Linked DNA regions of Homo sapiens: region 2 is linked to region 1. The links are contacts of gene promoters, found by promoter capture Hi-C in human tissues and cell types (Jung and others, 2019). All regions are on one chromosome and are shown on one strand. The core of a region is centred on a gene start or on the middle of the fragment in contact, and the rest is flanking DNA. Distances in the headings are between cores, read along the strand shown.

Region 1 (5,641 bases), core at 134-2,633:
TATTAGTGGCTGTAACTGCAAACACATTTGCACACTTATTGTTAACATCATCTGTGCCATCTATTTGAAGTACGTAAGATAATTATTGCTAGAAAGAGAGGCCATCAGCTAAGAACCTCAGGACTTCTAGCCCCCCAGAACTGAGAACTTTCCAGCATCGCTATCCATCATTTATTCAGCTCTGAACCGCCAGCACCCAATACAGAGCCTGGATAGGAGGGCTCACAATGTGTTTGCTAAATCAATGGATGGCCACTCCATTTTACAAGTGAGGAAACAGAGGCAGAGGAGAGATCCTCGTCTGTTTGCAGAAGAGGCTCGTCGGAGGTCATTTGGGGAAAGTTGGAAATAGAGAATGCCAGCTGTGGGATCCTCTGGAGCCAATCTCAATTCTCTGGGCTTCCACCACTTCTGAGCATCTCATAAACAACGCTGTCCCTTTGCTCGGTAAATCAATGCTGAACCAGGACCAAAGTGATAGCAGTCTGTCTGCTGGGGAGAGGAATGCCCTGTGCTTCCTCAACATTCAGAGCAGGCATTGTCACACGTTTTCTATAAGGGGCCACATGTAAATATTTGAGGCCAGCCACACAGTCTCTGTCACAACGACTCAACTCTGCCATCGCACTATAAAGGCAGCCACAGCCAATCTGTAAGTGAATGGGCCTGGTTGTGCTCCAAAAAAGCTTTATTTTAAAAAATAAGCTGTGGGCTGGTTTTGGCCCTTGGGCTGTAGTTTGTCCATTTCTGGCTTAAAGCATGATCAGGGTCACCCTGTACAATTGTGCAGGTTATTAACTACACAAAGGGTGTTGGCCACAGTTGAGAGGGGCTGTATCCACCTAGAGAAAGGGGTGCCCTGCACACAGAGGCACCACAGGGATGAGCAGCAGCGCAGGCAAAGCTGCCGTCACTCACTCTGAAGACTTCGGGGAGGATCTTGTCCAGTGTTCTGGGTGGGGGTGAGAGGCAGGGGAAGAGTGGGTTAGAGAGGGGCAGGCAGCAGCACCTACCAGGGGTTCCTTGTTCTTCACCAAGCGGACGATCTTCACCGATTCCTCATCAAAATCCTCATCGATATTGTCAGGCAGAGGCGGGAGAACGGGGTCAAAATTCTTCTGGGCAACCGTGTCATGTACCATGAGCACAGCCTGCCGGGAAAGCCAGAGAAAAGGAAGGCTGGCCCGCCGCTCACAGGGTCAGCAGGCCGCAGCTGGCCGGTGGTATGGAGGGTGGCAGACGCCATGCCAGAGAGACAACTGCCCAGACACTAGTGCTGAGGATCGCTCCCTCAGTCTCCACTCCTCAGCCTCATTAGGAGAGCTCCCTCCGCCCCCATCCCAGGAGACCCAGAGGCATGGCTGGGCAGGGGCTCTGTGTGACTACCCTCAGGTGCGGGGTGGACAGCAGCTGGAGCAGCTCCCTCTCATCACTGTGCACGGAGGCGGCCTGCAACTCCTCCATCACCTGCAGAGAATGAGACAGGCGCCACTGATGGCTAGAGGTGCCCCTGCCCCATATCTGCTGGGTCCTTCCTCTTTGGAAGGGCCCACCCAGCTGCAGCCCCCAGGGGCACACCAGACCCTCAACCACCCGACGACGATGATCCTGGGAACATCACACCAGGGGTCAGGAGCAGCTCTATGGGGCCATCCTCCAAGGAGCCACCGTTTTAAGCCCTACGTGCTTTCTGCTTTATGTGGATCTTCTCACTGAACCCTCGCAACCAACTTGATGCAGAGGGTCTTGTTACTTTGCCATTTTACAGATGAGAATCCTGAGACTCAAAGAGATTAAACATTTTGCCCGAAGTCACAGAGCTCATATACAGCACAGCTAGGATTTGAACCTGGGCTTATCTGGCTCTCAGATGCTATTTTATGAATGAGGAAATGGGAGCTCAGAGAGGTTGAGTGGCCTACTTAACATCACAGAGCTGGTGGGACAGGCAGCGCTGAGCCTGGGAGCCAGGCAATCTAATGTGCCCCTAATCACATTCCACAGTGGAGAAGGGCCCAGGGCTCTGCACCCACAAGCTGCACTCATCCCTCCCCAGGCCATCTCCTGGGGTTAGGTGAGTTTATTCAGGAACTGATCTTAGTAATCAACCAGAATGGGTTTTCCCCAACCACGCAACATAGACGACTAGGTCCACAAGAAATTAAGAAGCGTTCCTTTAAAAAATGAGAAGCCTGAGCCAGTATGCGGGGACACACTGTAGGTCCCTTGACTTCAGGAAAGCACAGACATAATGTCTTATTGACCTATTCAAATCACCAGTCCTCAGGGCAGTTTGGGAACTGCTGAGCCAATCCAATGCTCTCATTTACAGCAGAGGAAGCAGACTTGCTAAAGAACACACAGTAAGTGGGCAGCTCCATGTCACAGTGTCTCCCAGCCCAGTCCAAGGCTCACGGGTTCCTCCCTACCTTTCGGGGAACCCAGAGAGAGGAAGAGAAGGAGGAGGACAAGGGAAGAAAACACCTCTTCACCTTTGGGCTCCTGATTCCCGGTGTCCCCACACTAAGCAAGCGAGGCAAGATGAAGGAGCCCTACAGGGTGGGGAGTGGGGCAGACACTGTAAGGAGAAACCTGGGGCTTACGTCCTCAGCGAGGGCCACAGCGCTGTGCAGAACTGGGGTTGGACTTTGCCTTTCATAATAGCGAAGCTTCTCATGAATCTGCAAAGACAGAGTATTTCAGATGCACCCTGGACACCACACATCCCACCCACGGCTGTGGGGACATTTGGGGCAGCAGACTGGGCCACTGACAGGGCACCATAAGAGAAAGTCCTGTGTAGTGGGCAAGTGAAGGCCTTCCTGGGGCAGGGAGATGACTAGGATGACCTCAGACGGCCACAGACAGCTAGAAAGACCTCTAGACACCCTTCCACGCAGGATGACGTGGGACTTCACCTTCATTAAGTAACTGAGGCTTTTTTCACTGAAAACATCCCTCAGGAAGCCCATCTCCTCCTTGTGGTTGGAGTCAGGTCTGAGCTGGGAGGTCAGCAGGGCCAGGGTTTCATGCAAACCTGGGGAGAGGTGAGAAAAACAAAGGATAGCAAACGCAGTGGGTGCTCCCTGCCCCCGAGGAGCCCGAGTGGGGCCTCAAACAGCACTTCAGTCCTGCCGTGAGGACATTCTCTCCCCAGGCTCTCACTGCCAGGGCCTGGAGGCTGCCAGGCAGGCTCTTGTCTTCAGGACTGTGGCAGGTCCAGCCGGGGGGAGGTACTTACCAGAGTCCTCCGATAGCACTGGCATGCTGGCGTTGTCACCTCCCGACCTCTCCCTGCAGATTCTGGGAGAAGGGGGTGGAGGTGGGTATTGAAGCTCCATCAAGCATATTTATTGAACAAACTGACTACACATCTACTGTGTTCTCTGAGACCAGGCTGTGGACAGAGAGGATGGGAACAAATAACTCTGCTTACTTTTTTCAGAGAGGAAGGAAATAAAGCTAAGATGTGCTGAGTGTCCTCGATGTGCCAAGCATTGTGTGGGGTGATTTCTATGATAAACTTTTTGTCTGCACAAAGTCCTGAGAAATGACTGCGAATGTTCCCATTTTATTGATGAAGAAACAGCGGCGTGGAAGCTTTCAGTAAGCTGTGGGTCAAAATCCATATTCAAGCAGGCTCTTCCAGGCTGGCCTTGGAGGTGCCAAGTGACCCTGCCTGACAGTGTCAGCTGTCCTCCGCAGCGCGCCCCCTCCACTGCAACCTTCTAAGAGCCCTGGCTCAAGTCTCCTGCTGGGACACACCTTCCACAACTACCTGGCTGGGCCTACAAGCCCCCTGTCCCCGACCCCCCAAGACCCAACCCAAAGGGAGCCTCCAGACTGGAGTGCAGAGAGGAGGGGGGGAAATGGGAGTCGGGCTTCCACTATGCAGGAGGGGGGACCCCTATCTCATGAGGCCCTCCAAAGGTGCTCTGCAGCACGTGGACCTCAAAAAGTCCTCCTTAGGAAGAGGAGAAGGAGAGTCATGACTGATTCATTCCGCAAACATGGAGCCAGCCCGCAGCGCCGAGCCCCGGTGCCACTAAGAGGCGTAAGAGCGGCCCCGGGCCCTCCAGCCTCCGCCCCGCCCCGCCCCGCCACGCCACGCCGGACTCACCCTCGGGCTGCTCCCCGCAGGAGGCCGAGCACCGACTCCCGCTCGCTCTCCGAAGGAACCTGTGGGAGAACAAGGAGCGCACTGGGCGCAGGAGCAGCGACCCCGGGGGACCTCGGAGGGCGGTCCCGGAGGACGCGGAGCAGCAGGGAGCGGGGGGCGCGCGGCGGGGCGGGCGCGGGAAGAGGGAGGCGGGGGCCGAGGGGCGGGGTTGAGACTCCCGCGGTGGGCTCGGTGGGCCGCGAGGCTGTCCGGGAGCACGGGAGGAGGGTCTCGGCCCGGCCTCCCGCCCCTCCCGCCGCGGCGCCCAGCTCCCTCGTCCGTTCCCCTCGCGGCCTCCTACCTCGTCGCGCCGGGATGTGTGCTCCGCGAACGGGAGCCGCGCGAGTGCCCAGAGCCTGGGCCGCCGCTGGCTCCGCCTTCCCGGACCCCTCCCTGCGGCTGCCGCGCCGGGCGGGGGTGGCGGAGCCTGAGGAGGCGCGGCGCGGGGAGGAGGCGCGGCGCGGGGAGGAGGCGGGGGAGGAGCGGAGGCCGCCCTCCGCGTCTGGCACCGCCGCACCCTCCGGGCCGGGCTCCGCTAGCCGGCGTCGTACCCGCTCCCGCTCTCCCGCTCCCTGAGTCCCCTGCCTGTGTCCCCCCGCACCCTGGCACACAGCCAGACTTCCCTTCCGCCCGCGCAACCCACCCTCCGCGAGTGGAGGGGTGGACACCTGCTCAACAGAGAATTCGATTTTGCAAACATTTATTGAGCGCCCTCCAGGTGCCAGGCGCTGTGCCAGGGGCCGGGGCTTCAAAGACGACCAAGGCACAGATCCTGGGTTTGAAGATCTCCAGAGGTGGGGCGGGGGGCCGGTCGGATGCGAGGGCAACTCGCTGTAACAATGCAACGCGCTGGGAAAGATTTATCGGTGCACGCTGCCCTGGGGACGCGGAGCAGGGGAGGAGAAGTCAGGCTGGAGAGGAGGGGGACTCCATTCTGCCCGGCTGCAGGGGAGTGAGGCTACATAGCAGAGGCGAGCAGCATCCAGGGGCTTTACTGGAAAAAGAGCTCTGAAATGGCCATGACGATAACTGACTTATATTGTGCTGTCTCCATGCCCAGGTACTCCTCAGATCACTTCCCTTCACAGTAGTTCCTGATATCAAGACCATTCTTATTTTGGTTCTGCAATTGAGGAAACTGAGGTTCCTGGTGAAAGAATGTGTATAGGGGAGAGCATAGGAACTGCTGGGTGAGTGAGCAGGTGGTTGTGGGTATTAAAAGGTGAGGAGTGGGTGAGTGAGTGGGCCCCCTTCCCTCAATCCCAGCAGCAAAGAACGGCACAGCACATGTCAGGAGAGGTGGACCCAGAGGTTAAGTCTGGAAGTAAATCTAGCCCTGCACAGTAACCAGGGAAAATGGGTTGGCAGGCCCCACAGGCTGTAGTGCATGGGGAGGCTGTGAGAGGCAGCAAATGTCATGATGATGTTTCCCCTCATTCCTCAAAAATTATCCTCATTCCTCAAGAAATATCTACACTATTG
Region 2 (3,902 bases), core at 1,252-3,751, 170 kb after region 1:
ATTTCTAAGTGGGAAAACAAAAAAACTCAATGAGGAGGTCCTATGTCAGCCCCTCCTTCCACTACAGAGTCTCCCCCCCGGGACAGTGTGTCCGAGGGGTGGGGGACTGCGGGGAAGATCCCAGAAACGGGTAAGCGCACTCACTCGGCCTCCCCTGGAGACTCCTCAGGAGGGAAGTAGCCCAAGCCCTGCTCCCCAAAAAGGCAGAGCCCCAGGTGTCAGGACTCCAGCATGGGGAGACAAAACCACGTGCAAGAAAGCAGGGAGGAGCAGGGGTAGGAACTGAGGGTGCTTAGGGTCTGGCCATGCCACTGACGAGCTGTGTGACCTTGGCCAGGTCACCTCCCCTCTACAACAACAGAGGGTCCTCTTTCCCCCTCTACAACAACAGAGGGTCTGACTGGATCAGAGTGTACCCAAGGGCAGGATGTGTGCAGCTGACAGTGCCCAGCACATGGACACAGTATGAAGTAACATTGAATCATATCCTGTGAATGTTTTCAAGCCTTTCAACTCCTTTCCAAAACTTGCTTAACAGCATGGATCTGGAGCAGAACTGCTTCCTAGACCAGCTCCACGGCTTGTGAGCTGAGTGACCCTGATCCTCACATATTTCTGTACCTCCATTTTCTCATCTGTAAAATGGGAATAATGATAATAGCTATCCTGGAGTCACTGAGAGGATTAAATGAATGACTATTTGTGAAGTCCTTTGCATAGTGCCTAGCATTCGACATGTGTTAGCTATTCCTCTACCACACAGAAGGCTTTGCTTGGTGCTAGGGTATCTTTAACACATGGCACCTGCTAACCTTCCATGTTACCAAGAAAGCAGGCAAGCTATGCAGATGGAATATAATGGAATGTAATAACATTGTTTTCCTCTCACTTGATTCTTTTTTAATTTTGATTTTAATTTTAATTTTAATTTTTTTGAGACAGGGTCTCATTCTGTCGCCCAGACGGGAGTGCAGTGGCACAGTCTCAGTTCACCGCAATCTCCTCCTCCCAGGCTCAAGTGATTCTCTGGCCTCCTGAGTAGCTGGGATTACAGAAACATGCCACTACTGCCTGGCTAATTTTTGTATTTTTAGTAGAGATGGGGTTTCACCATGTTGGCCAGGCTGGTCTTGAACTTCTGACCTCAAATGACCCACCCGCCTCCTCACTTGATTCTTAAGGCTTATGGCAAGTGATACTGGCCTAGTTACAGACCTAACATGGATAAACTTTAAGTTTAAAAAGGTTAAAGAGGGCCGGGCGTGGTGGCTCACGCCTGTAATCCCAGCACTTTGGGAGGCTGAGGCAGGTGGATCACGAGGTCAGGAGTTTGAGACAATCCTGGCCAACATGGTGAAACCCTGTCTCTACTAAAAATACAAAGATTAGCCGGGTGTGATGGTGTCTGCCTGTAATCCCTGCTACTCAGGAGGCTGAGGCAGGAGAATCGCTTGAACCCAGAAGGCGGGGATTACAGTGAGCCGAGATCGCAACACTGCACTCCAGCCTGGGCAATAGGGTGGGACTCCATCTCAAACAAACAAACAAACAAAAAAAAAAAAAAAAAAAAGGGTTACAGAGGTCGAGTGAAGTAGCTCACACCTGTAATCCCAGCACCTTGGGAGGCAGAAGTGGGAGGACTGCTTGAGCTCAGGAGTTCACGAACAGTCTGGGCAACATGGTGAACACCCGTCTTCAAAAAAAATAATTTTTTTTTAAATCAGCTGGGCATGGTGGTGTGCATTTGTGGTCCCAGCTACTAGGGAGACTGAGGCAGGAGGATCATTTGAACCTGGGAGGTGGAGGCTGCAGTGAGCTATGATTGCACCACTGTACTGCAGCCTGGGCAACAACAGAGTGAGACCCTATCTCAAAAACCAAAATAAAAAACTCTATTTTATTTTATTTTTACCAGATGTGATATTCGATAAAGAAAAGCATTAACACTAAAGTATTATAAGTTTTGAGGGGTGTTTTGAGGATATCACAGAATTCCTCAAGCTGGTACCCAGTGACTGGAGTTTGGCAAACCCTGGTAACCTCATGGTCATTCATTAGGATCTTTTTTGAGCTCAGGCAACAGGACAGACAAGGCCAGCACCACCCGCCCCCGCCCTCCCACTGCCCCCCTTCTTCTACTCTTTCCAGCGCCCTCCTTCCAGCCCCCTGCCCAGCCCTGTGCTCAAAGCCACCTACAGTCCCTTCTTCTCTGGTCAGAATGCCAATCATCCAAGGCCCTGCAGACTCCCAAAGCCGCCCCTGGAACCTACCTTGGCAGCAGATTAAAGACAACCCGCCACATTTAGTCTCGGCCCCATGACCGATAGTGGGTTCAGTTCCTCCAGGGGCGGGGGAGCCTAGTGGCCCCGCCCCCTGACTCATGGCCTGACCCTCCTCAAACGCACCCAGAGGAGACTCCTGGTCCCCTGTCCGGACCCCGCCCCGACCAGGTCCAGCCCCGCCCAACGGCAAGTTAAGAGCCCCCCAGTGCCAGACGCTCCAGACAGACTGCCACTCTTGGGGGGCAAGAGTTGGTTGTCGTCATGGCGACGGCGCTGATGGCTGTGGTTCTGCGGGCAGCTGCTGTAGCCCCGAGGCTGAGAGGCCGGGGAGGCACTGGGGGCGCCCGAAGGCTGAGCTGTGGCGCGCGGCGGCGGGCGGCGAGGGGCACCAGCCCGGGGCGCCGGCTCAGCACCGCCTGGTCGCAGCCCCAGCCCCCGCCCGAGGAGTACGCGGGCGCGGACGACGTCTCCCAGTCGCCCGTCGCCGAGGAGCCGTCGTGGGTGCCGAGTCCCAGGCCCCCGGTGCCCCACGAGTCCCCAGAGCCTCCTTCGGGCCGCTCGCTGGTGCAGCGGGACATCCAGGCCTTCCTGAACCAGTGCGGGGCCAGCCCTGGGGAGGCGCGCCACTGGCTCACGCAGTTCCAGACCTGCCATCACTCCGCGGACAAGCCCTTCGCCGTCATCGAGGTGAGCGGAGCCCGGCGTGGGCCGTGACGCAGCGAGGGGATGGGGTTGTGCGGCCACCTGTCCTCAGGCATGGCAGGATACGCTGCGGGCTCTGCGCAGCGGAAGCGGGAAGGAGCCCGGCAGGGCCCAGACCAGCGCCGCCGGGAATGGGAGAGGCCGTAAGCTCCTCCGGAAGCCTCCCGCCCAGCCCGAGTGAGGATCCTGGGGGACCCCACCCGCCAGGTGTGATGCTCTGAAGAAGGCCCCCAACATGGGCGCAGTTAGGGGTTCAGAAGGACCTGGACAGGAGCCGCTTGCACTGCCCCTCCCCCAAAGATGTCCCGGAGTCCAAGGTCGGAGGGAGGAGGGCGGGAGGTACCCCAGCGTGAGACAAGGGAGTGGCAAGACCCAACGGGGCAAAGGGCGGAGCAGGTGGGCACTGGTGGCCAGAACTGGGTCCTGACAGCTTCTGGAAGGGTAGGGTCACCGAGACGGCCCTGCAGGCCAGGCTGTGGGAGCCAGCGGCTCAGGTCCGTGTCACGCTCCTTGAAAGCCCACTCCTCCGCAGGTGGACGAGGAGGTGCTCAAGTGCCAGCAGGGCGTATCCAGTCTGGCCTTTGCCCTGGCCTTCTTGCAGCGCATGGACATGAAGCCGCTGGTGGTCCTGGGGCTGCCGGCCCCTACGGCTCCCTCGGGCTGTCTTTCCTTCTGGGAGGCCAAGGCGCAGCTGGCCAAGAGCTGCAAGGTGCTGGTAGACGCGCTTCGACACAACGCCGCCGCTGCTGTGCCATTTTTTGGCGGCGGGTCTGTGCTACGCGCTGCCGAGCCGGCTCCCCATGCCAGGTGAGTGCCCGCCCTGCCCGCCCAGGCGTCCTCAGAGCGTGCTACTCTGCCCGCCCTGCCCCGTCCGGCAGGCCTGGAGGGGGCCCTCTCGAGCACCACGTCTGGCCCACA

What was found. The method cuts DNA at HindIII sites, captures the fragments that hold promoters and counts their contacts. A contact is called where the count stands out against the background at its distance.
Region 2: the fragment with the promoter of NAGS here is called in contact with a fragment that was not itself captured in region 1 in 3 of the 25 tissues and cell types used here (bladder, lymphoblastoid cells and mesenchymal stem cells).

Annotation. Positions count from the first base shown.
Region 1 is chr17:43,828,641-43,834,281 of GRCh38, forward strand. MPP3 (MAGUK p55 scaffold protein 3) reads right to left here and starts at 4,506. Exons shown (of 20, transcript NM_001932.6): 1 at 4,461-4,506; 2 at 4,121-4,179; 3 at 3,242-3,303; 4 at 2,919-3,037; 5 at 2,604-2,681; 6 at 1,387-1,467; 7 at 1,014-1,151. The coding sequence starts at 3,266. LOC107984979 (a long non-coding RNA gene) reads left to right here and starts at 5,065. Exons shown (of 3, transcript XR_001753057.2): 1 at 5,065-5,349. RefSeq lists silencers at 4,466-4,515, 4,536-4,635. The HindIII fragment of the contact is 3,501 bases long and covers 1-3,134 here.
Region 2 is chr17:44,002,121-44,006,022 of GRCh38, forward strand. It overlaps NAGS (N-acetylglutamate synthase), which reads left to right and starts at 2,502. Exons shown (of 7, transcript NM_153006.3): 1 at 2,502-2,969; 2 at 3,517-3,791. The coding sequence starts at 2,544. It also overlaps a transcript of PYY not described here. RefSeq lists an enhancer at 3,425-3,902. The HindIII fragment of the contact is 21,260 bases long and covers 1-3,902 here.